Regions from separate parts of the Homo sapiens genome. Here regions 2, 3, 4, 5, 6 and 7 are each linked to region 1. Evidence: promoter capture Hi-C in human tissues and cell types (Jung and others, 2019). All regions are on one chromosome and are shown on one strand. The core of a region is centred on a gene start or on the middle of the fragment in contact, and the rest is flanking DNA. Distances in the headings are between cores, read along the strand shown.

Evidence for each region. The method cuts DNA at HindIII sites, captures the fragments that hold promoters and counts their contacts. A contact is called where the count stands out against the background at its distance.
Region 2: a fragment that was not itself captured here is called in contact with the fragment with the promoter of ZNF704 in region 1 in 2 of the 25 tissues and cell types used here (H1 embryonic stem cells and dorsolateral prefrontal cortex).
Region 3: a fragment that was not itself captured here is called in contact with the fragment with the promoter of ZNF704 in region 1 in 2 of the 25 tissues and cell types used here (dorsolateral prefrontal cortex and psoas muscle).
Region 4: a fragment that was not itself captured here is called in contact with the fragment with the promoter of ZNF704 in region 1 in 2 of the 25 tissues and cell types used here (hippocampus and mesenchymal stem cells).
Region 5: a fragment that was not itself captured here is called in contact with the fragment with the promoter of ZNF704 in region 1 in 9 of the 25 tissues and cell types used here (adrenal gland, aorta, dorsolateral prefrontal cortex and 6 more).
Region 6: a contact is called between a fragment that was not itself captured here and the fragment with the promoter of ZNF704 in region 1, in 2 of the 25 tissues and cell types used here (heart right ventricle and thymus).
Region 7: a fragment that was not itself captured here is called in contact with the fragment with the promoter of ZNF704 in region 1 in 3 of the 25 tissues and cell types used here (aorta, heart left ventricle and mesendoderm cells).

What each region holds. Positions count from the first base shown.
Region 1 is chr8:80,873,165-80,877,132 of GRCh38, reverse strand. ZNF704 (zinc finger protein 704) reads left to right here and starts at 2,352. Exons shown (of 9, transcript NM_001033723.3): 1 at 2,352-2,562. RefSeq lists a silencer at 3,473-3,673. The HindIII fragment of the contact is 4,011 bases long and covers 342-3,968 here.
Region 2 is chr8:80,758,665-80,762,632 of GRCh38, reverse strand. All of the region lies in intron 2 of ZNF704 (zinc finger protein 704), which reads left to right. Among named protein-coding and RNA genes, the nearest start is that of ZNF704, 110 kb to the left of the region's middle. The HindIII fragment of the contact is 4,568 bases long and covers 1-3,968 here.
Region 3 is chr8:80,984,982-80,988,949 of GRCh38, reverse strand. PAG1 (phosphoprotein membrane anchor with glycosphingolipid microdomains 1) reads left to right here. Exons shown (of 9, transcript NM_018440.4): 6 at 1,484-1,580; 7 at 3,573-3,968. Among named protein-coding and RNA genes, the nearest start is that of ZNF704, 110 kb to the right of the region's middle. The HindIII fragment of the contact is 9,585 bases long and covers 1-3,968 here.
Region 4 is chr8:80,781,286-80,785,253 of GRCh38, reverse strand. The region is part of intron 2 of ZNF704 (zinc finger protein 704); the gene reads left to right. Among named protein-coding and RNA genes, the nearest start is that of ZNF704, 92 kb to the left of the region's middle. The HindIII fragment of the contact is 4,698 bases long and covers 1-3,968 here.
Region 5 is chr8:80,963,325-80,967,292 of GRCh38, reverse strand. No RefSeq gene overlaps it. Among named protein-coding and RNA genes, the nearest start is that of ZNF704, 91 kb to the right of the region's middle. The HindIII fragment of the contact is 4,980 bases long and covers 1-3,968 here.
Region 6 is chr8:80,802,802-80,806,769 of GRCh38, reverse strand. All of the region lies in intron 2 of ZNF704 (zinc finger protein 704), which reads left to right. Among named protein-coding and RNA genes, the nearest start is that of ZNF704, 70 kb to the left of the region's middle. The HindIII fragment of the contact is 3,589 bases long and covers 462-3,968 here.
Region 7 is chr8:80,940,269-80,944,236 of GRCh38, reverse strand. No RefSeq gene overlaps it. Among named protein-coding and RNA genes, the nearest start is that of ZNF704, 67 kb to the right of the region's middle. The HindIII fragment of the contact is 8,896 bases long and covers 1-3,968 here.

The DNA.
Region 1 (3,968 bases), core at 1,103-3,602:
GAAGTCTATTGAAGTGGCCTAAGAGAAACAATAAGCTGATTTCAAAGCATATACAGCAATTTTAAAAGAATGTACAATAGTGTATCATCTTTCACTAAGTCACAAATGCCAATCACCAATTCATTTAACTCTGTATTTCCTCTAGGTTCTCAGGAAAACATTTACTTTCTTTCATCTATAGCAATTTTAGGCACAAAAAGCTACATGCTTGGCCTGACCATGGTCCTCCGATGACAAGTTGTTGGTCTTTAAAAGCACATTTTGCTAGTTACTGACATTACTGAGCTTACTTAAAAGAGAGCTACCTTGTTATTCTCTGAGAGTATCCCAAGCCACCTTGTTTACCTACCATTACAATGTTTAGTATGATAAGCCCGCATATAAACCCTAGCTTGTCCCAGGCACTCTTGTAAGCTGATTGCATTTATTCACTCATTACTCTGCAAAACAACTTTACTACTATGATCCCCATTTCACAGATGAGGAAACAGGCACAGAAAGAGGATGAGTAAAAGTAAAGCTGGTAAGTTCCAGAGTCAGGATTCGGACCTAGGTGCTCCTGAGACCATGTGCCTAACTACTAGCCAGCTTGCCTCACACCTTTGTCCTCCTCCACCTCCTCCATACCTGTCTGCCCACCCCTTGCCCCGATCTTTCCTTTTCATGGCCAGAGAAAGATCCTGCTGCCTCACTCTAAAATCATCTCCCAAATCAACGAAGCTAAATTTCTTCCAATTGGGATGAAACCACCTTAATGTTCTTTCTTAATTCTTTGCACACTCTAGCTGATACTGATTATTCACTTATTGGCTAGCCCCTGCTATTCCATGCTTTGATCAGACACACCCATCTCTTAATGTTCTGTTTTCTTCTCTCTGAATTCCTGAACAGAATATTTACAAATATAAAGTCCAACAAGAAAATGGTGTGATCTAAATGGGGTTTCGGAAACATAAATCTGGTGGTGGCATCTGAGGAGGGAAAGGGAGGGTGTGTGGGTGAGAAAATGGGTGTGTAGAACTGTTAGAAACTTCCACTTTTGAAGTCACAAAATGCTGTAAGAGCTTTGGGAATGGAAAGGAAGGGGTGGATTCAAAATGCATTTTAGAAAGAACAATGGGTTGGACTTGTGGGCAATTGCCTCTAGGGATAAGGTAGAGAAGGGAGTTAAAATGATACCGCTATTTTGGGCTCAAATGATTATAATGAGAGTTTCATCACCTGAAATAGGTACATCAGGAAGCTAATCTGATTCAGGGAGAACAAAAAGTTCATTTTAGAATCTTTGTCATCATCCCTGTTCAACAGTTGGAAGCCACCATAAGTGAGCATTTAATGAGCCCCATTCAAGTGTCTAACAGAGCATATGATGTTAAATGTCCAACAATAATTAACTGAAGGTGAATACACCTTTTATTCTGGCCCCACGGAGGTGCCTACCAGGGTATTTGATGCGTAAGATCCTCCCCAGCCCTCCTCTACAGGGATGGAATTGGGGGTATGATTTGAATGTAAGAAATACGACTTAAGGCCGGGCACGGTGGCTCACACCTGTAATCCCAGCACTTTGGGAGGCCAAGGCAGGCAAATCATCTGAGGTCAGGAGTTTGAGACCAGCCTGGCCAACATGGTGAAACCCTGTCTCTACGAAAAATACAAAATTAGCATGGCATGGTGGAGCGCGCCTTTAATCCCAGGTACTCAGGAGGCTGAGGCAGGAGAATCGCTTGAACCCAGGTGGCGGAGGTTACAGTGAGCCCAGACCATGACATTGCACTCCAGCCTTGGCAACAAGAGCGAAACTCCATCTGAAAAATAAAGAAATATATATAAATAAAAATTAAAATAAATAAAAGAAGAAATACCACTTACTACATAGCCTAACCCCACGCAATAGCAAATATATTTTCTTTATCACACCTAAAAATCGTCAGAAAATGGCAAAATTAGTCATGTTATGTGCTTGATTTCCAGATTTGGTCTTACTTCATATTAATTTCTTAAGTAACCAACTCAAACGATCTTGAACTCCCACCCATTTGTTTCTTCAAAGTCCTGAACAATGCCAGAAGAGAGTCTACAGATCAGACAGTGCAAACAGAAAGCTTCTTGGAATTCAGCCATTAAAATCAGGCACTCAAGGTAGAATAGCAGGAGTAAAAGCTGAAAGACCTACACACTCAGCACAGAGCCAAGGCAGCTCAATCGCAGGGCCTAGAGTGGTGCGTTCAAAGAGTGTGAGATTGGTAGACAATCGCTCATGAAACAGTGTTTCGAAAATCTAAGCGACTCTGATGATTCATATTAGGAATTCATCCCAAACCTCAGATTGGTACACCTTCCTTGATTTCACACAAGCTCAGGAGTAGCTGCCATGCACATCAGTGTCCATTAAAATGACTTGTAGCAAATCTCTACGTTCAAAGTCTAACTTTGACAGACAACCTTACTTCCAGCGAAGTCTACTCCCCTCCCTCCGGAGGGAAGAATGGGCTGCGGTTAAGCGTTTGCCCTGGTGTCAGGGCCAACTGCTTCGAAGCGCCAGACTTTCGGAGACTGTGGGTAAGAGAAAAAAAAAATCCAGTCCGGGTTTTGTCTGAGCGGGGGGACCGGAGGGTTGTGAGGAATGGCTCGCGAAGAGGGGGGCGGTGGTGGAAAACATACAACACAAACAGCTCGCGCCGAGGCACGGCAGCGGTAGGCCCGGAGCGCGCGGGCGCAGCCGGCCGGGAGAGGCGCGCGCGGGCTCGGCCGCCGGCCGCATGGAGCGCAGCGCGGCCCGCGGCTCCCGGGCGGCGGCGGCGGCGGCGGAGGCGGCAGCGCGCCGCTCGCTCACACCCACCCCCGCCCGCGGCCGCCGCGCCGCCCCGCCGTAGCCGCCGGCCGCCGGCGTCCCCGCCGGCCGGTCCAGCGAAGGCGGCGCCCGCGCCTCTGCAGCCAGTGGCAGCCGCGGGTCCTGGCCGGCGGCTCCTGCAGCCCCTTGCGGCCGCGAGTCCCCGGCCCTGCGGCCACCGGCGGAGGCAGAGGAGGAAGAGGAGGTGACAAACTCTCCGGCCCCGCGCCGCGGCCCGCAACCCCGCGCTCAGGCATGCAGGCGCGGCGTCTAGCCAAGCGCTCCAGCCTGGGCAGCCGCCGGGGGGGCGCCGCGCTGCAGCCTGCCGGGCCGGCGCCCGCGCCCGCCAAGGAAGCCGCCCTACCCGGGCTCCCGCCCCCTGTCCCGGGCCCGGCCCCGGCGCCCGCCCCGGAGAGCTGGAGGCCGCCGCTGCCGCCGCCGCCGCGCAGCGCCGGGACCGGCCCCCCTCGGGCCACCGGGGCCGCCGCCGCCGCCTCGTCGCCGGTGCTGCTGCTTCTAGGGGAGGAAGACGAGGACGAGGAGGGCGGGAGCAGGCGGCGGAGGGGGCTCGGGCGTGTGGAGGAGAAGCCCCGAGGGGGCGCGGAGGAGGAGGATGACGACGAGGAAGAGGAGGACGAGGAGGTGGTCGTCGAGGTGGTGGACGGCGACGAAGACGACGAGGACGGCGAGGAGCGTTTCGTGCCCCTCGGACCCGGCCACGCAGTCCCCAGGGGCCCGGCCCGGGGCGCGTTGAAGGTGCGTGTTGGGCGCGGTGGCGCGCGTGGGACCCGCCAGCCCGGGGAGGGGGACGGGCCCGGGCCCCGGGGCAAGGCGCCTGGCCGAGGACGGTCAGCGGCGCCGGGGAGAGACCCGGCCAGGAGGGGTGTGTCAGGCGGCGCGGGCGGCCGCGCGGGGCAGCGCGAGGAACTGTTGATTTGCCTGCGCCTTGGGCCCCTGCGTCTCTCCCAGGCGGCGGCTCCCGCTTTCCTCAAAGGCCGTGTCGGGTTTGTTGTTTGGTGTGGGTGCCGGGAAAGGGCGCTTCTCCCCAGTGAGGTGGGGAACTTGGGTGATGGGACCACGGAGGCGCCGGTTCGTGCCCGGTGGGGACGGGTGAGGCAGGGGAGAGTGAGATTTT
Region 2 (3,968 bases), core at 752-3,251, 110 kb after region 1:
TCCCTACCCAAATCTCATCTTGAATTATAATACCCACATGTTGAGGTAGGGACCTGTAATCCCCACATGTCAAGGGAGGGAGGTGATTAGATAATGGGACCAGTTTCCCCCATGCTGTTCTCGTGACAGTGAGTGGGTTCTCATGAGATCTGATGGTTTTATAAGCATCTGGCATTTCCTCTGCTTGCACTTCAGTCTCCTGCCACCATGTGAAGAAGGTCCTTACTTCCCCTTCACCTTTCACCATGATTGTAAGTTTGCTGAGGCCTCCCCAGTCATGTGGAACTGTGAGTTAATTAAACCTCTTTCCTTTATAAATTACCTAGTCTCAGATATTTCTTTGTAACAGTATGAAAATGAAGTAATACACCTGCCAAACTATTCAGTCACTTATGACTTCTGCCCCTTCACACATAGTATCAATTTGCTATGTGATGTATTTCATTTTCACATCATGTCCAATACTGGAGGTATAAATTGTGTCAAGATTTTTAGAGACATCTAATTCATTTTATGCTTTTTTTTGGCCAATTTGACTTCACAAAAGTGCATTATCACAACATTGGGTATAAGCATTGTGCGCATATGTAGAAATATTGAAACTTCCTCAGTAAATGAAGATGTCCTTTTGTACACCTGCATTTGTTAAAGATAAAATTTCTTTAGATCTTGGTTCTTTGGGCAACTGCATATATGGTGGTGACCCATTGAAGTTTATTAACAGATCTCATCAAAAGACTTAGGTTATCTATCAAGGTATTTCAGATGCCACAGTTATAAAGCTGGGTGTACACAATTACCAACCACAGTGACTTTGTTTATACATTTTGCCTTTTGACCTATTTATGAATATGATTTGTCTTCTCATAACTTTTACACCCATGTGACCATTGTTAGTATACCTGAGTGTTTATGCTTACAAATATCTGTATATTAGTTCTTGCCTATTTTATTGTGTAAAGTGGCCTACAACATATTTTATCATGTTTTTAGATGTTTCTCAAATCTCCTTTTCAAAAATGTAAATAAATGTCTCAAGGAATTTTTATTAAGTTATTTTTTCAGAATTATATTTTCAAGATTTTGATCTCTCAGGATTGTGATTTCCAGGATTTTAGATGTTAGGGATTATGATTTTTGGGGATTTCAGTGTTCAGGATTATAGTGTTTAGGATTGTGTCTTTCAGGATTATGGCCCAAACCCCCAAAAAGGTTAAATTTATAGTTAGAATTTTTAGTGCCAGTTATTTGAGAGCACCACAAATGTCTGTGACACAAAGAAATTTACCTTTTAACCAATTGTACTAGTTCTTTCCTGCTCTATAACAAAATAGCTGAGACTGGGGTAAGTTGTAAAAACAGAAACTTATTTCTCACAGTTCTGAAGGCTGAGAAGTCTAAGATCAAGGTGTCGGCATTTGGTATCTGGTGAAGCTGCTCTCTGCTTCCATAATAGCACCTTCTTGCTGTGTCCTCATGTAGTGGAAGAGTGGAAGGGCAAGAGGGCCTCTGTAATTCCTTGCAGCCCTTGTATAAGGGTACTGGTACAGTTTGGATCTGTGTCTCCACCCAAATCTCATGTTGAATTGTAGTCCCCAGTGTTGAAGGTGGGGCCTGGTGGGAGGTGACTGGATCATGGGGGTGGATTTTTCATGAATGGTTTAGCACCATCTCCCTTGGTGCTGTCCTCGTGATAGTGAATGAGTTCTTGTGAGATCTGGTGATTTGAAAGTGTGCAGCAGTTCCCTGCTCGCTCTCTTGCTTCTGCTGTGGCCATGTGACATGCCTGCTTCCACTTCACCTTCTGCCATGATTATAAGTTTCCTCTGCAGAAACCAAGCAGATGCCAGCATCATGTTTCCTGTACAGCCTGCAGGACCTATGACTCTTTTCTTTATAAATGAAACCTCTTTTCTTTACAAATTACCCAGACTCAGGTTTTGTTTTTTGTTTTTTGGTTTTTTTTTTTTTTTTTTTTGAGATGGAGTCTCGCTCTGTCACCAGGCTGGAGTACAGTGACACAATCTCGGCTCACTGCAACCTCTGCCTCCTGGGTTCAAGCAATTCTCCTGCCTCAGCCTCCTGAGTAGCTGGGACTACAGGCGTATGCCACCACACCCAGCCAATTTTTGTATTTTTAGTAGAGACAGGGTTTCACCATGTTGGCCAGGATGGTCTCGATCTCTTGACCTCGTGATCCACCCGCCTCAGCCTCCCAAAGTGTTGGGATTACAGGTGTGAGCCACCGTGCCCGGCCAGGTATTTCTTTATAGCAATGCAAGAACAGACTAATACAGGTGCTTATCCCATCCATGAGAATTCAGCCTCATTAATCAAAATATCACACTGGATCTTAGGTTCCAATCTGTGAATTTTGGAGACACCTGTACATTCAAAACATAGTACCAAGTGTATTATTTATTACTGGATAACAAATTTCCACAAATTTAGCAGCTTAAAACAATACAAACTTATTCTCTCGTAGTATCTGTGGGTCAGGAATAGGGGCACAGCTTAGCTGGGTCAACTGCTCATCAGGGTCTTTCTCATGGGCCTAAAGTTAAAGTGTCAGCCAGGGCTGGATGCAATGGTTCATGCCTATAATCTCAGCACTTTGGGAGGCAGGGGCAAGAGGATCACTTGAAGCCAGGCATTCAAGACAGCCTGAGTAACATAGTAAGATCCCCATCTCTACAAAATGTATTTTTTTAATTAGCTGGGTGTGGTGGTATGCATCTGTGGTCAGCTACTTGGGAGGCTAAGATGGGAGGACTGATGGAAACCAGGAGGTTGAGGCTGCAGTAAGCCATGATCAGACCACTGCACTCCAGTCTGGGAAACAGAGCAAGATCCTGTCCCAAAAATAAAATACAGTGTCAGCCAGGGCTGGAGTATCATCTGGAAGCTCAAGTGGGGAGGGATCCTCTCCCAAGCTCACTTATGTGGTTGTTGGCAGGATCCACTTCCTTTTGGGTTGTTGGTCTGAGGGCCTTAATTCCTAGCTGCTATTGACTAGAGTTAGACCTCTCCTCAGTCTCTTGTTATGTGGGCCTCCCCACCATGACAACGTCATCAGAGCCAGCAAGGTGGAACCCCAGTCTGTATAGCCTAATTATGAAGGTGACACATCGTCACCTTTGCCATATTCTCTTGGTTACAAACAAGTCGTAGGTCCTGCCACACTAGTAAAGAGGGTATTAAAAAGGGTATGAACTGTAGGAGGTGAGATCATTGGGGGGCATCTTAAAGTCTGTTTGCCACACCAAAATGTTGATTTAAATATTACTCACCCAGTCCAAAGCTTGTATGCAGGTGTGAGATATTTTGCTAGTGGAAAAAAAAAAAAAAGGCCCTGGAAAAAAAAGCTCAGGCTTAACTATAATGTTACTCTAGGGTCCATCAAAAGTCTACAAAGCTGAACATTCTAGTTAACTGCTCAGGTGCCCACAGTCCCTAATCAGTCACATTAAAAGCTGTTGTGCTCATGTTTCTACTCCTTGCATTCCTAGTATAGTGTCTTATTCATGATAGATACTAAGTGCTGAATGGATGAATGTTTTTTAAATCTAGTGTTTCTATGTGATGGGAAGCAGTATAGTGTACCAGTTCAGAGCATGAACTTTGGAGTCAGAAAAACCTGGGATCACATGCTTCCTTTGCCACTTACTTGCTATATAACCTTTGGCAAGTTACTCAAATTCTGTAAGGCTCAGTTTCTTTCTCTGTAAAATGGGGATAATACTACCATATTTTATTACATCTAAGGCACTATGTATTTTAAGATACAGCATTATTTTCTGTGTAATTCATAAAGAAAAATAATGCTGCCAATTAAACTGTGATATAACTTGATTGATTATAAAATGCACCTGATTTCAAACATATTAAAATATGAAAAAAGTGTATGCTTTAGAATTGATAAAATGCAAGGATGCCTACCTTATGTGGTTTTGATAAAGTTTAAATGA
Region 3 (3,968 bases), core at 370-2,869, 110 kb before region 1:
GCAACCTGAGACAAGTTGGGTATTTAAAGAAATACATGAACACCAACTTGCTTTCTGACTACTCTTAGCTATAGCTGAGCCAGGCATATTGTTCTAGGTAGCATCTACACATTCTATCCCTGCAGAAAACCAACTATTGATGCCATTCTTCCCTCCAAATGTCCTAAGTTTATTTGTAAGAATAAGAAAGATTTGCAGAGCTGGGCACAGTGGCTCACGCCTGTAATCCCAGCACTTTGGGAGGCTGGGGTGGGCATATCGCTTGAGGCCAGGAGTTCGAGACCAGCCTGAGCAACATAGCAAGATCCCATCTCTTATGGGAGCAGCCAGACATAGTGGTGCATACCTGTAGTCCCACCGATTCCAGAGGCTGAGGCAGGAGGATCTCTTGGGCCCAGGAGTTTGAGACTTCAGTGAGCTATAATCATGCTACTGCACTCCAGCCTGGGCAACAAGGTGAGACCTCATCTTAAAAAATAAATAAATAAATAAATAAAAAGTTTGCAGAGCTAATTTTCAGCATATTATTGTTTCTGTGAACCTAGCAGCCAGAGGCTTTGCTGGTTCTAAAATAGTTTCAGAAATCAATAGCCTTATCTATCTCTGACCAGATTTAAGTCTGTTCCCTTCACATGACAAAGGGTGATGCCTTTCCACGTTTCTCATAGCATGGCACACCTTTACCAATAATGATTTACAGCACCTGTGTTGTAAGGATGAGGCTGCTGTGGTCTTTTTCAACCAGTTCCCTTCCTGCCTTGAGCTAAGGGAATTGATATCTCACAACCTGCCTATAGCCCTGTGTAGGTCACCAGGCAGGAAGCTCTGCACATGGCTTTGGAAGATTCCCAGTGCCCCTAAGATTCTGGGACAACAGTGTCTAATAGAACTTTCTGCAGTGCTGGAAGTGTTCTGTATCTCCTATTGGATATGGTATCCACTGGCCACATGTGGCTATTGAGCGCTTGAAATGTGACTAGTCAACAAGGAACTCAATTTAGTGTATTTTATTTTACTTAATTTAAATCTAAAAACAGTAGCTCCCCTTAATCTGTAGTTTTGATTTCTGCAGTTTCAGTTACCCACAGTCAACCACAATCCAAAAATAGGTGAGAACCATACAAGATATTTTGAGAGAAAGGAAGAGCACATTCACATAACTTTCATTATATTATATTGTTTTATTGTCAGTGGTTATTGTTAAATTACTGTACTTATAAATTAAACATCATCATAGGTATAACATATATGGATAGGAAAAGACATAGTCTATATAGGGTTCAGTACTACTCATGGTTTTAGGCATCCACTGGGGGTCTTGAAATGTACCCTCTGTAGATAAGGGGGGACTATTATAGGAGATTCTGTTTTCTGTTTCTGCTGTTTTAATTTTTTGAAAAAGCCATGGATCTTCTCCTCTGCTCTGCAGTCCAGATTCTTAGCAATGTGATGCATTTGTTTTTGTTTTTGTTTTTGTTTTCAGCCTTCAGACAAGGAGATGTTCAGCCGTTCAGTTACTAGCCTGGCAACAGATGCTCCTGCCAGCAGTGAGCAGAATGGGGCACTCACCAATGGGGACAGTAAGTTCTGCAAAAACACCAGCTTTCCACACAGGCCTCATCACCTCTGGAAGTCCTAGGTTTCAAAATACATAGCTCAAAAAGTAGGAAATGTGTTATTGCTCAGTTTTAGTATTCCTAGCAGTTTTAGCAGAACCCCTCATTTGGATGAATACTGCTACTTATTAATCCACTTCTGTGTGCCAGGCATTGTTCTAAGACTGGTACATGTACTAATTCATTTGCTCTTTTAGTACATTTTAGTACATTTACATGTACTAATTCATTTACCCCACGAGATTACTGTTATTAATAATAACACTACTCTGTAAGATAGGTATTATTACTCCTCACAATTTAAAGGTGACAAAACTGGGCACATTGCTGCTGTAACAATATTACCACAAACCTCATGCCTTAAAATAACAATTTATTGACTTGCAATTCTGAGGTCAGGAGTCTGAAATGGGTCTCACTGGGCTAAAATCAGGGCATCCGTAGGCCTGTGGTCCTTCCTGAAGCCTCAAGGAGAATCCATTGGCCTCTCCCTCATTCTTCACATCCCTCTCTGACCCTCCCCCCTCCCTATTCACTTATAGGGACCCTTGTGATTACACTGGGCCCACCTGGATAATCCAGGCTTCCCTCTCATCCGGGAGTCATCTAATTAACAGCCTTAATTCCACCTGTAGCCCTAATCCCTCCATACCCTCCACAAAACATTACACATTCACAAGTTCCAGGAATTAGGAGACAGACATTTTTCAGGGTCGTTCTGCCTTCCACAGAGATGTTGCTAATTTGCCTGATATCATATAGTCAGCGGGCTAAGGATCTGTAGTTGGAACCAGGCAGTCTGATCCCTGGGCACGCACTCAGTCACTCTGCATAACCTCTGCATCATGCATTGTGTACTCTTGCTGATGGAAGGAGCAGCTAGGTTTCCTTCATGCTTTAGAGTTTACACCATGCTTTTACCTGAGGTAAGAGGGCGTCCTGTTACCCCTGTTTACTGATGAGGAAACTGTGGGGTAATCAGGACACCAGTGCCTGTTCTCTGTCTACCATGATGTAGACAACTAGAACCAGAGAGCAAAAGTTCACCCCCTCCGTGATGATCAGGGATTTAGAACACACAGGGGTGTTGGTAAGTTCAGAAGGATTGGGGGATCCGTTGTCATTTTTTCACATACCCCTTGGAAACACTATTTCTAATTCCCCCAGAGTGAGACACTAATGGAATAACTTGCTTACTTTGTGTCTGCATCCTAAGGGCAGGGCTTTCTGTTTCATTGAATGATGTGTCTGCAGCACCCTGCACCATCCCTGGTGCATGGCAGGCACTCACAACACGGTTGACAAAGGGACGACTGAACAGCTTCACACAATAGCATATCTGTGGCTGGCCAAGAATTTCACATTTGGTTTTTTTCTAATTTGAGGTAGGAATGTTGGTGGCGGGATGAGATGGAAGCAAGGTATGAGGTGCCAGTCCCTTTGTGCTAATGGCTGACGGGTGCATGTTTGCCCTGTAGTTTCTATTATGTCTGCCAAACAAAAGTCACCTGTGTGAAAGGGGGTGGCTACCAATAATTCCCTCCACACAGGCAGGGGTCAGTGGTGCTGGGGACTGTGGTCACTGCACATGCTGCCTTTCTGGTGTCCAGCCTCCCATAGTTCAGCGGCATCAAACTGGTCATCTTCTGGTCACATTGGACAATCTGCCTACAAGAGTCTCTCATTGGAGTGACATTAAGGAAAGTAATTGTGAACTACACTTAGAGCCAAGATAACTTATTAAATCTTGTATTGGGAAAGATATAATGAACAGCTTTATTTTAAACTGTGATTGAAGTAGGATACCAACTGATGGTCATAACAACTATAATTTGTGCCTGAGACTTAAATAAAAAGCACGCATCTTGATTTAACCTAACTTTATATTACCTGATTCTCGGTAATAATTATTGAAAGACTTGCCTTTCTCCGCTTTTAATGTGTGTGCTGCTTTAGTTCTTTCAGAGGACAGTACTCTGACCTGCATGCAGCATTACGAGGAAGTCCAGACATCGGCCTCGGATCTGCTGGATTCCCAGGACAGCACAGGGAAACCAAAATGTCATCAGAGTCGGGAGCTGCCCAGAATCCCTCCCGAGAGCGCAGTGGATACCATGCTCACGGCGAGAAGTGTGGACGGGGACCAGGGGCTGGGGATGGAAGGGCCCTATGAAGTGCTCAAGGACAGCTCCTCCCAAGAAAACATGGTGGAGGACTGCTTGTATGAAACTGTGAAAGAGATCAAGGAGGTGGCTGCAGCTGCACACCTGGAGAAAGGCCACAGTGGCAAGGCAAAATCTACTTCTGCCTCGAAAGAGCTCCCAGGGCCCCAGACTGAAGGCAAAGCTGAGT
Region 4 (3,968 bases), core at 609-3,108, 91 kb after region 1:
TCAAGTGAAAAACATCAGACCAATCCCAATTGAGGTGTATTCTGTAAAATACTTCACCAGTACTCCTTGAAACAGCAAGGTCATCAAAAACAAGGAAAGTCTGGGAAACATCACAGCCAGCAAGAGCCTGAGGGGGCATAAAGACTAAATGTAATATGGTATCCAGGATGAGACCCTGGAACAGAGAAAGGACATTAAGCAAATCAAGGAAATCTGAATACAGTGTGGACTTTAGTTAATAATGATGTATCAATATTGTTTCATTAGTTGTGACAAATGTATCTACTAATGTAAGATAATAGGGGAAACTGCATGGGGGCTGTATGGGAACTCCACACTATCGTCTCAGTTTTTCTGTCAATCAAAAACTGTTCTAAAAAATAAATTTTAAAAAATGTTTAAAGATAACTTGGAGAAAGCCTAGATGACCTTGGGTATGGTGATGACCTTTTAGAAACAACAGCAAAGACAAACTCCATGAAAGAGGCAGTTAATAAGCTGTACTTCGTCAAAATTAAAAACTTCTGCTCTGCAAAAGACAGTGTCAAGCGAAGGAGAAGACAAGCCACAGACTGGGAGAAAATATTTGCAAGGACTGTTATCCAAAATATACAAAGAACTCTTAAATCTCAAAAATAAAAAAACAACCCAATTAAAAAATAGGCAAAAGACCTGAACAGACATCTCCTCAAAGAAGACACGCAGATGGCAAATAAGCATATGAAAAGAGGTTCAACATCATATGTTATTAGGAAATTGCAAATTGAAACAAGAAATCACTATATACCTATTAAAATGGCCAAGATCCAGAACACTGACAACACCAAATGCTGATGAGGAAGTGGAACAACAGAAACTCTGAGTAGTTGCTGGTAGGAATGCAGAATGGTACAGTCACTTTGGAAGACAGTTTGGCAGTTTCTTACAAAACTAAACATATTCTTATCACTCAACTCAGTAATCACACTCCTTGGTGTTTATCCAGATGAATTAAAAACTTATATCCACACCAAAACCTGCATATAGATCTTTATAGCAGCTTTATTAATACTTGCCAAAACTTGGAAGCAATGACGTCCTTCAGTAGGTGAATGGATAAACTGTGGCACATCCAGAAATGGAATACCATTCAGTGCTAAAAAGGCAGGAGCTATCAAGCCACAAAAAGACATATGGAGTATGAGGACAGAGGGTGCTCAGCAAAAAAGAAAAGATATGGAAGAAGCTTAAATGCACACCACTAAGTGAAAGAAGCCAATCTGAAAAGGCTACATACTGTATGATTCCAACTATATGACATTCTGGAAAGGACAAAATTGTGGAGACAGTAAAAAGATCAGTGGTTGCCAGGGGTTGGAGGAAGGGAGGGATGAGTAGAGAGAACACAGAGGATTTTTAAGGCAGTGAAACTACCTTGTATGATGCTATAATGGTGACTCTGCCTGTCATTAACCCTTAGAAGGCACAATACCAAGAGTGACCCCTAGTGTAAACTGTGATCTTTGGGTGATAATGTCTCAGTGTAGGTTCATCAGTTGTAACTGTGTTGATCGATGTCGGCAGTGGGAAAGGTTGTACAGGTTGAGGGAAGGGGGAACATGGGAACTTTCTGTACTTTCCTCTCAATTTTTCTGTGAACTTAAAACTGCTCTAAAAAACAAAGTTTATTAATTCAAAAATGCCAATAAGAAATCTATGATGTCCCCTTCCCCCATTAGGCAAGCTGAATGGAAGTCACGTTATCCAAAGGCTACCCCAGTTGCTAGGAGAACATGGAGTCAGAACAAGAATGGACTTAAGTCAGTTGCTGGGCTTAATACCTAGGTGATGGGATTATCTGTGCAGCAAACCACCACAGCACACATTTACCCATGTAACAAACCACCACATCATGCACAGGTACCGCTGAACTTAAAAGCTGGGGGAAAAATAAAAAGAATGGACTAAAGTCACATAATTTAAATGTGTGATGGCTTCAAACTCCTACAGTTGAATGTTGTGGTCTTTCTTAGATGGACAGGCCTTCTCTTCTGGACAGGGCAGGCTAGGCAAGGCAAATGTTTGCTTCTGTCATCCTACTTTTGCTCCTGCTCCCTGTGGACATACACACCTCTGCTGAACACACATGTTCAGTCTGGTTATCTGGTTTCCAGGAGTGCAAATGTATAGACTTTATCCATTTATAGCCCTGACCCATTATGCTTTGATTTTGTAGTTTAACTTTCAAACCATGCCATTTCTGTGGTTTCCAAGTACAGTGCCCTTGAACAACACAGTTTTCAACAGCTCAGATCCACTAATATGTGGATTTTTTTCAATAAGTGCAGTCGGCACTCCATATGGGCGGGTTCCATGTCCACAACCAAACACCAATCAAAAATACAGTATTCACGGGATGCAAAACCCACATAGAGGGACGACAGGAGGATTTTGTGAGGATTTTGGTATCCTTGAGGGTGGGAAGCATCCTGGTGCCATTCACCTGCGAATACCAAGCAGCGACTGTACTTCCTCAAAAGCACTGCTGACAACCCAAGATCCCTCAGATGTCCTTAATGAAACCCTTTTTTCAGGCTCTTTCTTACCCTGGTCGTCCTCCTCTTCTGGTTACACTCCCATTACTAAATACCATTCCTACTATTGTATATTAACGTTCCTTTTAAAACCTAGTGCCTAGAATAGCAGAAGGACTCTACATATCATGTGATTATTTCAGAGTACAGTGGACTCTTGTATTCATCTGGACATCGTAATTGTATTAATGCAGCCAAAATTATATTAAGTACTTCAGCAGCCCCATCTCCCTAGCTCTTGTTGAGACTCTAGTTAAAAACATCCCTGAGGCCTTTTATCCTCTGAACTGCTGCATCACGCAGCTGCTTGTAAAGCCGTCTCTCCTCCAACTTGTGCTTTTATAATTGAATCTCTTTAAATGTAAATGCAGACAATTACATTTGTCCTAGTTAAATTTCATCTTGTTATTTCGAGCCCAGAGCTCCAGCTTGTTGAGATCTTATTGAATCTTGGTTCTGTCATGGATTTCTGTTATGCATACTTGCTTGTGTCTGCAACCCAGGTAGAGAGGCTTGAAAATAAATATATCCCAGCTGCGCTAACTCAAAGCAAGAGGTACTGAGAGAAGACAGCAGTGATGATTGCTCGGGGATGGGGAAGGCAACTGCCCATTCTCTAAGCAGTAATTTCCTAATATTTTTGGTGGCAGTTCACAGTTCAACATTATGAGATATAGCAAAAGCCATTTATTGCTAATTACATTTAACTGATGTCTATGAAGGACTATTCCTATACATTAGAGTGAATTTGAGACTATCTCCATCATTCTCCAGCCATTCTTCAGTGGGAGAAAAACGGTGGAATTAAACTAGTGGAAACAAGGCTTTCTCATCTAGTCCCAATCCAGTCGATAAGCTGTGTTTGCCAATCACTGCTCCAGCACAATGGCCCTCAGTTTATTTTTAAGTCTATGGCATGCCTGAAGGACCATGTTCCCATGAGTGACACCCTTCTGTAAATGTGGTGGCACATTATGGGCTGCTGTTTTAGAAGAGACTGCCAACTTGCTGGGGATTATCCTGGTGTATTCCTTTCTCTCCGGCTGGTTCGTGACATGTCACTGGCTTGAAAATTCTCAGCCCTAACATTTAAAGCAGCGATTCGCAAAGTGCAGCACTTTTAAGCTGAGGTTGGCAAACTGTGGCCCATAGACCAAATCTGGTTCACCACCTGTTTTTAGTACATCACTAAATGGTTGGGGGAAAATCAAAAGAAGAATAATATTTCATGACGTGAAAATTATATGAAATTCAAATTTCAGTATGCATAAATAAAATATTGAACACAGTCATGCTTATTTGTTTATGTATTGTCATTGGCTGCTTTTGCAAATAGTAGCAGAATTGAGTAGCTGTGACAGAGACTATATGACCCACAAAGCCTAAAATATTTAC
Region 5 (3,968 bases), core at 978-3,477, 90 kb before region 1:
AGCAGGATGTCTCAGAGCAAATGACTTTAACCACCATCTGACCTGGCTGCCCCCTTCCTAGTCACTTAAGACTGGCCTTGGGGCCAAAAGGCGAAGCAGTGAGAGTTTTCTTTGGCATGCTCCTGTCTTATTTTTGTCTGTGCCCTGTAACTACAGGACACCCCAAACCCCCAGATTGCCTCTTTAACACCCACCACAACCCAGCCTCCCTTTCTGAGATTTTTCTCTGCTTTCTCCTTCTGTTCCACCCCATCTGCACCATTATAAATACTCACCCTGTTCCATATTTCTCCAGGGACTAGCCCGCTTATTTCTACCCAACTAACTGTTCCTGTACAGTGAGTGAATATCCCTCCTACTCCGAGGACTGTTTACAGTTGTTTAAGGAGCTTGCTGCCTATCACAGTCTTGAGCAAAACCACCCTTCACTCTCATGGGCACGGCAAACTCCTGAGAGACTGCTGGGAGTATTTGGGCATAGAAGAGAGGACAGAGGCTCCCGCAGATCACACGCCACATCAGCAAATGCCTGCTGAGCCCTCACAGAGGCCGTGCCTGCTGCTCCCTGTCAAAGGGTCTCATCTTGCCTGGTTGCTTCCTTGCATGTGATGTAATGATAGCAACCTAGAGGCAGATGTGCGTAAGGGCCTGGCCATCTTGGTTTCAAACTCTGGCTTCATTTCTCACCACACGGGCAGAACTTTCCTTTCCCAGAGTATTAATCACAACTCCATTCTGTGTGTGGAGGCTCAGCGCTAAGAAATGTTTGTTCTGAGTCTTTGGAACACAGATCCTGGTTTCCCACCTGGGCTGTCTGGGGAAATGGAAGCTCCAGAGCTCAGCAGTTTCGAAGGTTCCCTGTCACCTGTAGAATGGAGCACTCGCCTCTTCTGTCAGAGGTGGGTGTACTGCCGATTCTAGGACGTAGACATTTACCAAGTGCTCATTAAGAGGACTGGAGAATTCTGATACCCTAGTTAAGGTGAGCCAAACAGTCCAGACTTTATCATTTTTTTTTTAAATGTTTCTCCTTGGGTCCATCTTTCTACCTCTGTGAATACAATCTGCAATACGATTTTTTTCAGTTTTGAAGAGTTATCCAGGACCTTACTGTACTTTTGAGGTCGCCATTTTGAATGTTTGCTCCCATCCTAGATGATTCTTAAAATCTCAAGGCTGGACCTCGGCACTCCAAAGCCAGCTGTCTCCCAGGCATCACATCTGTTTCCACAATGTCTCCCTCGGTATGTCCCAATGTAAATGTGGTTGTTCTGGAGTGGAATCATCTTTCCGAGCTGCCTTGTTTGCTCTTCAGGGCACATTAACTTTGAAATATTCCCCGTAGCATACACTACAATTTCCTGCACACAGCAAGCACTAAATAAATGTTTGGTTTGATTTGAATTCTCCTACCTTTCTATCATCCATAATCTTACAAGCCTGTCTTGAACTAGTGCCTACGAATCTTAGGATTTCATACTTGAACTCTTCCCCCACCGAAAGCTTCTCTGTGACTGTGAATTTCTGAAGAGATGCCAGGGTAACAAGATAGGGATATCCTCCAAGTCAAACCAGCCCAAAAAGCAGTGGCACGGGGAAGAAGGCAGACATCTGACATGCAGATAAACAGCACCACAATCTGGCAGAGTGTCTTCTAAAACAGACACGTCATTCAAAGCAACAGCTTTAAATGTTTAGGCCCAAAGGAAAAAAAATTAATCATCGCAACATCAAAGTAGAAAAGCAAAGTTAACAGGAAAACAAAACAAGCCACAGGAAAACCAAATATTGATTCATTCCATAAATATTTGCTGAGTATTTACTATGTGCCAGGAGCTGAAACAGGGTGAGAGAGAAGAGACAGAACTCCTGCCTCATTGGAGCTCACATTCTAATGGCCTTAGTGCCTACCTTTAAATGTTTGACATACACGTTTAAATTCTCAGGGTATTCAGCATCTCAATGTCTCCACTGATTGTACCAAGTCTCTGGAGATCCACTTTACAGAGAGGCCTCCAGAAAGGCCTCTATGAGCAGGTTACATTTAATGTGAGACTGAAATAATAAGCCAGTGAAAGAAATTCCAGGCATGGTGCACAGCCAACGCCAGGGCTCCAAGCCAGGAAAACCTTGATCTTCTCACACAAGCACACATAAATCAATAACGGGCCAGCTTGCCAGGCCTCCGGCATGTCTCCTTCTCCACCATTCCTGCCCTTGTCCAGCCAGTCCCCATCCTAAGTCACTCTGTAGCACCTCAAATCAACCTTCCGTACTGTTGCCAGTATTATCCATCTAGAAAGCAAGCCTGTTTGGATCAGGAGAAAAGTACAGACTAATCACTAATTATTATCTACTATTTCCCGGGCACTGTTCTAGATGTTGGGGATACAGCAATAAATAAAACAGCTAATGGTTTCTGTTCCAATGAAGCTTACATTCTAGCAGGGGAAGAAAAATAATTAATCAAACCAAATTTCAGATCCGAAATGTGATGAGTAAAACAAAATGGAATAAAGTTAATGAAATGATGATAAAATAGAGACTGCCTTGGTTTGTTAGGGCAGGAAGAATGATACCTTTTCTACTGGGTGGTCAGGGAAGGCCTGAATGACTTGGGGCATCAGTATAAAACTTGGGGAGAAAAACATTCCAAGAAGAGAAAATAGCAAGTGCAAAGGCCCCAGGGAGGAAAAGACACTGGTATGTTCCTGGACCACAAAAGAAGGCAGGGTATCTGAACCACAGATAGAGTCACAAAAAAGGGAAATATGAGAGAGAGGCAGGGTCCAGATTCCACAGAGCAGAGTAGATCAAATCAAGAATTATACTGTGATAGCCCAGGCACAGTAGCTCATGCCTGTAATCCCAGCAGTTTGGGAGGCTGAGACGGCCGGATCACTTGATGTCAGGAGTTTGAGACCAGCCTGGCCAACATGGCAAAACCCCGTCTCTACCAAAAGTACAAAAATTAGCCAGCGTGGTGGTGCACGCCTGTAGTCCCAGCTACTGTGGAGGCTGAGGCCGGAGAATGGCTTGAACCCAGGAGGCAGAGGTTGCAGTGAGCCGAGATCACGCCACTGTACTCCAGCCTGGGTGACACAGCAAGACTCCATCTCAAAAAAAAAAAAAAAGAAAAAAAAAAGAATTGTACTGTGATATTAGGAGCAAATAGAGGCCACTGAAAGATTTTAAACAGAAGTTTGGCAAAAATTGGTTTTCCATATGAAACATAACATAATACTTGAGGCCAGGAGTTTCAGACCAGCTTGGGCAACACAGTGAGACACTGTGTACAAAAATCATTTTTAAAAAATTAGCTGGGCATGGTGGCACACACCTGTAATCCCAGCTACTTGGGAGGCTGAGGTAGAAGAATCACTTGAGCCCAGGAAGTTGAGGCTGCAATGAGCTATGATTCTGTCACCGCACTCCAGCCTGGAGAACAGAGCAAGACCCTGTCTCAAAACAAAACACATACGAAAAGAAAATAACAAAAAAGAACATAAAATTGAATTCCCAACTTACACCATAAATGAAAATAAACTTCAGATGGACGAAAGAGAGAATAATAAGAAACAAACATACTAGCTACAATAATATAAGCTTACTATTTATGAGTTACCATTCTACAGGCATCTCACTGTATTAGCTCATTTAATCTTCAAAACAACTTTAATGAGTTAAATAATTATTCTCATGGTAATCAATGATATCACACTGAAGCATAGAATAGTTAACAAATTTGTCCAGATTTTAGTGGCAAAGATGAGATTTGAACTCAGGTAATTTTATTTCCAAGCCTGAGTTCTTAAAATTCTGCTGTGGGAGATATTTATTATGGCTTTATTATGTATGGTTTAGAACTGAAATATGCAATGCACAAAAGCACAAATCATAGAGGAAAACACTGATCTGTTTGACTCCATAAATTTATAAAATGTCTTTATAAAGGTTTAAGTGTATGC
Region 6 (3,968 bases), core at 1,007-3,506, 70 kb after region 1:
ATCAGGCAGAATTCCCTGCATTTGCAAGGCTGTGTCTGTGGCATGGCACAGCTCCCACTCTTGGTTGTGGTATTTTGTATCCATGTTGTTGAAGCTCCATTTGGTCCTGTTCAGAAGAGTGAGCCTTCATGGAAAAAAGGAACCTTTTTCCAAGAAGAGAAATTAAAAACTGAGTTATTCTGAGCCTGTAGCAGAAACTCTGATGTTCAAATATGTTTGTTGCTTCTTCATTTCCCAGACTCTGAGTAATATAATTACATGAATTCGGATTGTCCACATAAAGAAAAAAACACAAACCTTTTCATCTTCTGTCTACCTAGGCTGGAAATGAAATGGGATATTTAGTCCAGATAATAGCTGTAAAACATACCAGGCATCCCATTGTATATGTTGTGAGCAGTGTTGACTGTGATGGTCATTACGTGATGCCAAGGTCAGGTTTTAGATCTCACGGAGCAAAAAGAATTTTGAGCATCTTGAACATCATCTGCTCCATCCCCCTTATTTGAAAGATGGGAAAATTGGTTTTTTAAAAAAATTAAGACTTTGGGTTTGAATAATGGACTTAATACATTTTCAAAGCTGATTTTTCAAACTTTACCACATTTTCATTTATGAGGCAGCACTTAAGATTCATCATGCACGACTTTCTGTGCTGATGTGCTAATAGTCTTCCTTCTTGTTTGAGAAGAAGAGATGCTACTTTCTGCTCCATCCTATGAAACACACCACCTGCTTCACCAAGCTGGAATGTGGTATTTTTCCACTGAGGAGTACGCTTGTTTTTGCAGGCAGAACACAGCAGTGCTGTTTGAAGACACTGATGATGGCAAAGGATCAAAGGTGGGAGGCGATGGCAGGTGGCAGCTTAGGGAGAGATCAATGCAACCAGTGTGGTGCATTGCTGTCTGCAGACGTACAGGAGCCAAGTGAGAATCCTAGGGTGAGGGAGGACAATTAAAAATCAAAGTCAGGCATATTTTCATGTAAATCTGACCATGCTAGGAAATAACAGGGCACTTTTACCATAATCAGAATTATGATCAATCTTGGAAAATGTGATGCTTAATTTGATAGGTAGAACACCAAACCATTTATCTTTGTTTCTTATTCCTGTGCCTTTTGGACACTAAAAGCAAATGAACAAATTTTGTTAAAATTCATGAGAAAGAAAAAAAGTAAAAATCCTACAGTGAAAAAAAGATATCTAGTTTTGTATGTTCATTCCTTGACTTTCAGGGACTTTCTACATTTCTCTTAGGTAAGTGAAATTATTCCCAAGTAATGTTTCCTGTTATCTAAGAAAAGATGTTAGCTCAAGGCTGGGTCCCCCATAATTCCAGAATTGATAAGGCAGTTGATGGCTATAGTGACTTGTCACCAAAGACCCTGGAATTGAGTAGGTATGGATTCCAGGTTGTGTGCTTGGGAATATGATGCAGTATCTTACCAAAAAACAGGAATTTTCTTGCTCCAGTTTGTTCTCCATGTTCCCCAGAGCTACAGCATCACAAGCTAGAAGTGCTAGGGAAAAGCAGGGGATGACTACTTAAAAGGCAATAATAATTTTGTTAAGTGACGAGATGGGTCCCCAAGCTTGAAACTTGCACAACAGTCAACTAATTGGCCTGTTGATGAAAGGTAAGGTTTTATGTACCTAGTCCTTGCCTACTTCAGGGGTAAGATATTTAATTTTTACAGTTTGATAATGACATTTATAGTTACATTTGAGTAGCATTCTAAAAGGAAGAGTAATAAACCCTAGTAGTCACTACCATTTGTCTGCAATGATGATTAGAAATAAGGAATTAATAGAAAAATCAAGTAGTATACCACAGGTCCCTCACCCCACCAATCTATGATGAAATTTTCAGCCAGATGAACAGCTTTGCATTTTTGGTGTTAAAATGGCTTTTTTTTTCTTCAACTTCTATTTTAAGTTCAGGGGTACATGTGCAGGATGTACAAGTTTGTTACAGAGGTAAACATGTGCCATGGTGGTTTGCTGCACAGATCATACCATCACCTAGATATTAAGCCCAGTATCCATTAACTATTCTTCCTGATGCTCTTCCTCCTCCCACCTCCCACTCTGACAGGCCCCAATGTGTGTTTTTCCCCACCATGTGTCCATGTGTTCTCATCCTTCAGCTCCCACTTATAAGTGAGAACACGATGTGGTGTCTGGTTTTCTGTTCCTGCATTAGTTTGCTGAGGATAATGGCTTCCACCTCCATCCATGTCCCTGCAAAGGACATAATCTCATTCATTTTCATGGCTGCATAGTATTCCATGGTATATATGTATCACATTTTCTTTATTCAGTCTATAATTGATGGGCATTTAGGTTGATTTCACGTCTTTGCTATTGTGAATAGTGCTTCAGTGAACATATGCATGCATGTGTCTTTATAATAGAATAACTTATATTCCCTTGAGTATATACCCAGTAATGGGATTGCTGGGTTAAATGGTATGTCTGCTTCTAGGTCTGTGAGGAATTGCCATACTGTCTTCCACCATGGTTTAACTAATTTACACTCCCAACAGTGTAAAAGCATTCCTTTTTCTCTGCAACCTCACCAGCATCTATTGTTCTTTAACTTTTTAATAGCCATTCTGAATGGTGTAAGATGGTATCTCATTATGGATTTGATTTGCATTTCTCTAATGATCAGTGATGTTGAGGTTTTTTTTCATATGTTTGTTGGCCACATGGATGTCTTCTTTTGAGAGGTGTCTTTTCATGTTCTTTCCCCACTTTTTAATGGATTTTTTTGTTTCTTCTAAATTTACTTGAGCTCCTTGTAAACTGGATATTAGACCTTTGTCAGATGGATAGATGGCAAAAAATTTTCTCCTATTCTGTAGGTTGTGTGTTCACTCTGATGATAGTTTCTTTTGCTGTACAGAAGCTCTTTAGTTTAATTAGATCCCATTTGTCAATTTTTGCTTGTGTTCTGATTGCTTTTGGTGTTTTCGCCATGAAGTCTTTGCCTGTGCCTATGTCCTGAATGTTATTGCCTAGATTTTCTTCTAGTGATTTTGTAATTTTGGCTTTACATTTAAGTCTTTAATCCATCTTGAATTAATTTTTGTATATGGTGTAAGGAAGGGGTCCAGTTTTAATATTCTGCATATGGCTAGCCAGTTCTCCCAGCACCATTTATTAAATAGGAAATTCTTTCCCCATTGCTTGTTTTTGTCAAGTATGTCAAAGATCAGATGGTTGTAGGTGTGCAGTCTTATTCCTGAGTTCTCTATTCTGTTCCACTGGTCTATGTATCTGTTCTTGTACCAGTACCATGCTGTTTTGGTTACTGTAGCCTTGAGGTATAGTTTGAAGATGGGTAGTGTAATGCCTCCAGCTTTGTTCATTTTACTTAGGACTGTCTTGGCTATTTGGGCTTTTTTAATCCATATGAAATTTAAAATAGTTTTTTCTAATTCTGTGAAGAATGTCAATGGTAGTTTAAAGGGAACAGGATTGAATCTAGAAATTACTCTGGGCAGTATGACCATTTTAATGATACGGATTCTTCCTATCCATGAGCATGGAATGTTTTTCCATTTGTTTAGTGTCCTCTGATGCTTTGAGCAGTAGTTTGTATTTCTCCTTGAAGAGTTCTCACTTCCCTTGTTAGCTGTATTCCTAGGTATTTTATTTTTTTGTAGCAATTGTGAATGAGAGTTCATTCATGATTTGGCTCTCTGCTTACCTGTTGTTACTATATAGGAATGCTAGTGATTTTTGCACGTTGATTTTTTTTTATCTTGAGACTTTGCTGAAGTTGCTTATTGGCTTGAGAAGCTTTTGGGCTGAGACGATGGGATTTTCTAGATATAGGATCTTGTCATCTGTAAACAAAGATAATTTGACTTCCTCTCTTCCTATTTGAATACCTTTATTTCATTCTTTTGCCTGATTGCCCTGGTCATAACTTCCAATACCGTGTTGAACAGGAGTA
Region 7 (3,968 bases), core at 817-3,316, 67 kb before region 1:
TCCTTCATTTTGCTCTCTCTTCTTCTCTCACCATGTGATTTCTTGCACAACCCACTCTGCCTCCATTTTCTGCTATAAGTGGAAGCAGCATGGCAGCATGGAAGACCAGATGCAGCTGCCCAATCTTGAACTTCCCAGCCTGCAGAAACATGAGCTAAATAAACCTATCTTCTTTATAAATTACCAGCCTCAGGCATTCTGTTATATCAATGCTAAATGGACTATGACATCTAAGTAATTCCTACTCAAGTCTCACATCGCCACTGGGAGCTCTCCCTGGTTCCCCAGGATAGGTTCACTCACTGCATGGTACCATGTGCTTACCTTTGTATGAGCACTTATCATGCTGTATGCTAATGTGATTATTTTCTCCTCCCCCAATGAAACTGTCAAATCAGACCCAAGTCCTAGTGCAACACATGGTTGAACAAATGACTTAGCATATAAATTCCATGAAGATAGATATTTTTGTCTATTTTATTTGCTGCCGATCCCCAGTATCCAGAACAATGCTTGGCACATACTAGGCTCTCAATAAGTAATTGTTGAATTAATGAGTGAAGAAATTAATGAACGAACAAAAAAATCCAGGCATAGTCTTGGACATGAAGAGGGAGCAAGGAGGTTCCCTACACAGTCCTCTCTGAGCAGCTCTTTCCCAAGCACATGGAAAACGAACCAGCAAATCTAAGGTTGTATGTTTGTGGAAGTGCCTTAAATCTTACACCGATGAACCCTCTCCAAAAGTGCAAATATGCACATTCCCAACACTGCTATAAAGATAGGAAGTGAGATAAGAAGAGGCAGCCTGTGTTGCCACATGTGGATTCCAGATGTTAGTTGGACTAGCTTGGCCCATAAGTGATAGATGAGGTCAGTTTGACCCTTTTCCATAGCCTGCAGAGATTCAAAATCTAGCAAAAAAATGTTTTATTCTCATGGTCACTGCTGGCTCTGCCTTATGGTTTTTCAACCATGATACTTAATTATTCAAAACACAAACCAAAAAATCCAGCTCTTTGTATTGTTTTAGTATAATAGACTTTAAGTACTTGTGGGATGTGAGGGAGGGAGGCTTGCAGAGTGTGGGAGGGAAAGGGAGAGCGGGGGATGGGATTTTTAACAGCTACTTGATGAGTTTTTAGTCCTGCCATGTCTTACATTTTCATTAAATTTCATTTAATTTTTGTTAAGTTCTGTGTGTATGTGTGTGTGTCTGTCACACACACACACACACACGTATAGAAAAAATGAAATTCCCGTTTGTCTTTTTAGTTCACTGTCACCTTTTATCCCAAGTGGCTTACGAAGGATAATCTACCTTAAAAGGTTTTAGTAAAATAGCTCTTTTAGAACCTTTTACTATGACCTGGCATTCTTATGCAAATATAAAAATTATTTAAGTAAAAATTAAAAAGAACCTTGACTGCAGATAAGGATCTTGCCTCTTATTGGTATCTGCATTTCAAAAATGCATATTCTTGAACTAAACTTGGCCCATCTGCTGGCTTTTCAGAATGAGGACTTTCCCAGATAGCTTATTGACTTCATCTGCTCCCAGCCCCTGCTTAGTCTGCCTGGTGCCTCCAGATGTGCTCAGGTGCCCTCATCCTGAACATCACAGCCTCCTTTTTGCCTTAGACCTCAATTACAAACATATAAACCGATATGTTTCAACCAATACACTTTGTAATTCATTTCAAACAAACCAAACCACATAAGTAATAAGTAAATTTAGCAAGATTGCAAAATGCTAGGTCAATATACAAAATCAAGTGTATTGCTGTATATGACCAATAAAAATTTGAAAAATAAACTTGTAGGAAAAGTCATTTATGAAAGCATAAAAATACAAAATATTTAGGAATACATTTAACAAAATACGTATGAGACATATAAGCCAAACACTATAAAATGCTGATGAGAGAAGACCCAAATAAAATTAAGAGATATATAATGTTCATGAATCAAAATCACTAAGATATAAGCTCTCCACAAATTGATTTATAGCCCTAATGCAATCCTCATCAAAATCCCAGAAGGATGGTTTTGTGTAGGAATTAACAAGCTGATTCTAAAATTCATACCCTAAATCAAAGAATCTCAAATAGCCAAATCATTTTATATATTTAAAAAAGTATAAAACTGATTTTACACTCCTGGATTTCAAAACTTACTGTAAAGCTACATAATCAAGAAGATATGGCATTAGTGAAAGGATAGACTTACAGATCAATAGTACGCAACAGAAACAGAGACACATGTACAGAGTCAACTGACTTTTGACAAAGACACCAAGATAATCGAATAGAGAAAGGATTTTCAACAACTGATGCTGAGACAACTAGATTCTTATGGGGAAAAAATGAATATTAACCTTTATCTTAAACTAAACACAATTAACTCAGAATAGATCATAGACCCAAATGTAAAATCTAAAACTATAAAATTTTTAAAGCCAGAGAAAATGTATAAGGTCTTAGAGTAAGTTAAAGTGAACACATGTGTCAGAATTCATTGAACCTTACTTTTAAATTAGGTACAGTTTATTTTACATGAATTGCACTTCAATACAGTCGACCAAAAGAGAAAAAATATGCATTTGGTGCTTAAATGAATTATTTAAATGAATAATTTTCCATTATCTTTTTTGCTCTTTCCTTCTGCTTTAGCCACATTTGCCTTCATTCTAGTCTCCACCTCAAAGCCTTTGGTCTTGCTGTTCCTGTGCCTGGAATGTTCTACTGACACCCACCACAGGCCTGGTTACTTCTCATCATTCAGGCTTTGGTTCAGATGGGATCTCCACAGAGAGGACTTTCCTGCTGTCTTAGATAGTCCATGCCATGTTCACATCTGTCTCCTGCCTCCACCAGTCAAGCTCTATCCTGTTTCTCTGTTTGTTTTATTAATAAAATAAGAATTGTTGACAATAAGAGTACATTGGTTTATTGAGTTTATATATCCACCACTGGAATGTGAACTATGCAAGGGCAGGAACTGTCTCTTCACCACTCAATCTCTAGCACTTAGAACAATGCTTGGCACAAAATAGGAATTTATAATTTTTTTAAGATAAATGAATAAATGGATATTATCCACACATTTTACCAGTATTAAGTTTTCCTTGTTCCTTATTAATTTCCAATCAATGAGATTGTTACTGCACCTGCTATTCATATTTATAGATTTCCTTTGGGTCACCAGTGACTTGCTTTCTCATACAAAGTACATCATTTTAATCTTAGTTTGGGAAGCTTCTATGTAAGTATTAGACATCCTTATTTCCCTGCATAAATAGCCAAGTTGGAATCAAATTATTCTTTGTGCCCTAATACAAATGCATGAAGGGGAGAATTCTCTGAGACCTTTAAAAAATTCAAGATGACAACTGTGTCTAGTTTCTGTTTACTCTGGCATTAAAACCTTCCAAGATTTCCAAGCATCTGTAAACAGGGTCAGCCTTCCTTTCCCAAAACCCAGAGTGTTCTTGACTCTAGTTGTGCTTCTCTAACGTCCCCCCACTACAATTTCTACCACTCCTGAAGGTGAAAATCAAACTGTTCTATTGGATTGAGATTTATTTACATTTCCTTTGCATTTCCTTTTGGGAGAAGGAGGCCATTCCTAATGGAATAGTAGAGTTCTAGTCCTACCGCTGTATTAATCCCAGTAGTATCTGAAGTTATGCAAAACAATATGAAATTTGTCTCAAAGTACATATGATTTTGAATAAACTTGTTTCACCAGGAGAGAAAACTTAAATATAAAGTGAGTTTGGATCATGCTGCAATTGTAAGAGAAAGACGAATATTTTGGGACCAAACTTCCTTAGGTAGAACTTATCATCTTATATGAGCTCTAAGCCATATTCCAAGCTGGTAACTGAGAAGAGACAGACAAATAGAAAATAAAGATTTATGCTGGCCGGGTGCAGTGGCTCACACCTGTAATCCCAGCACTTTGGG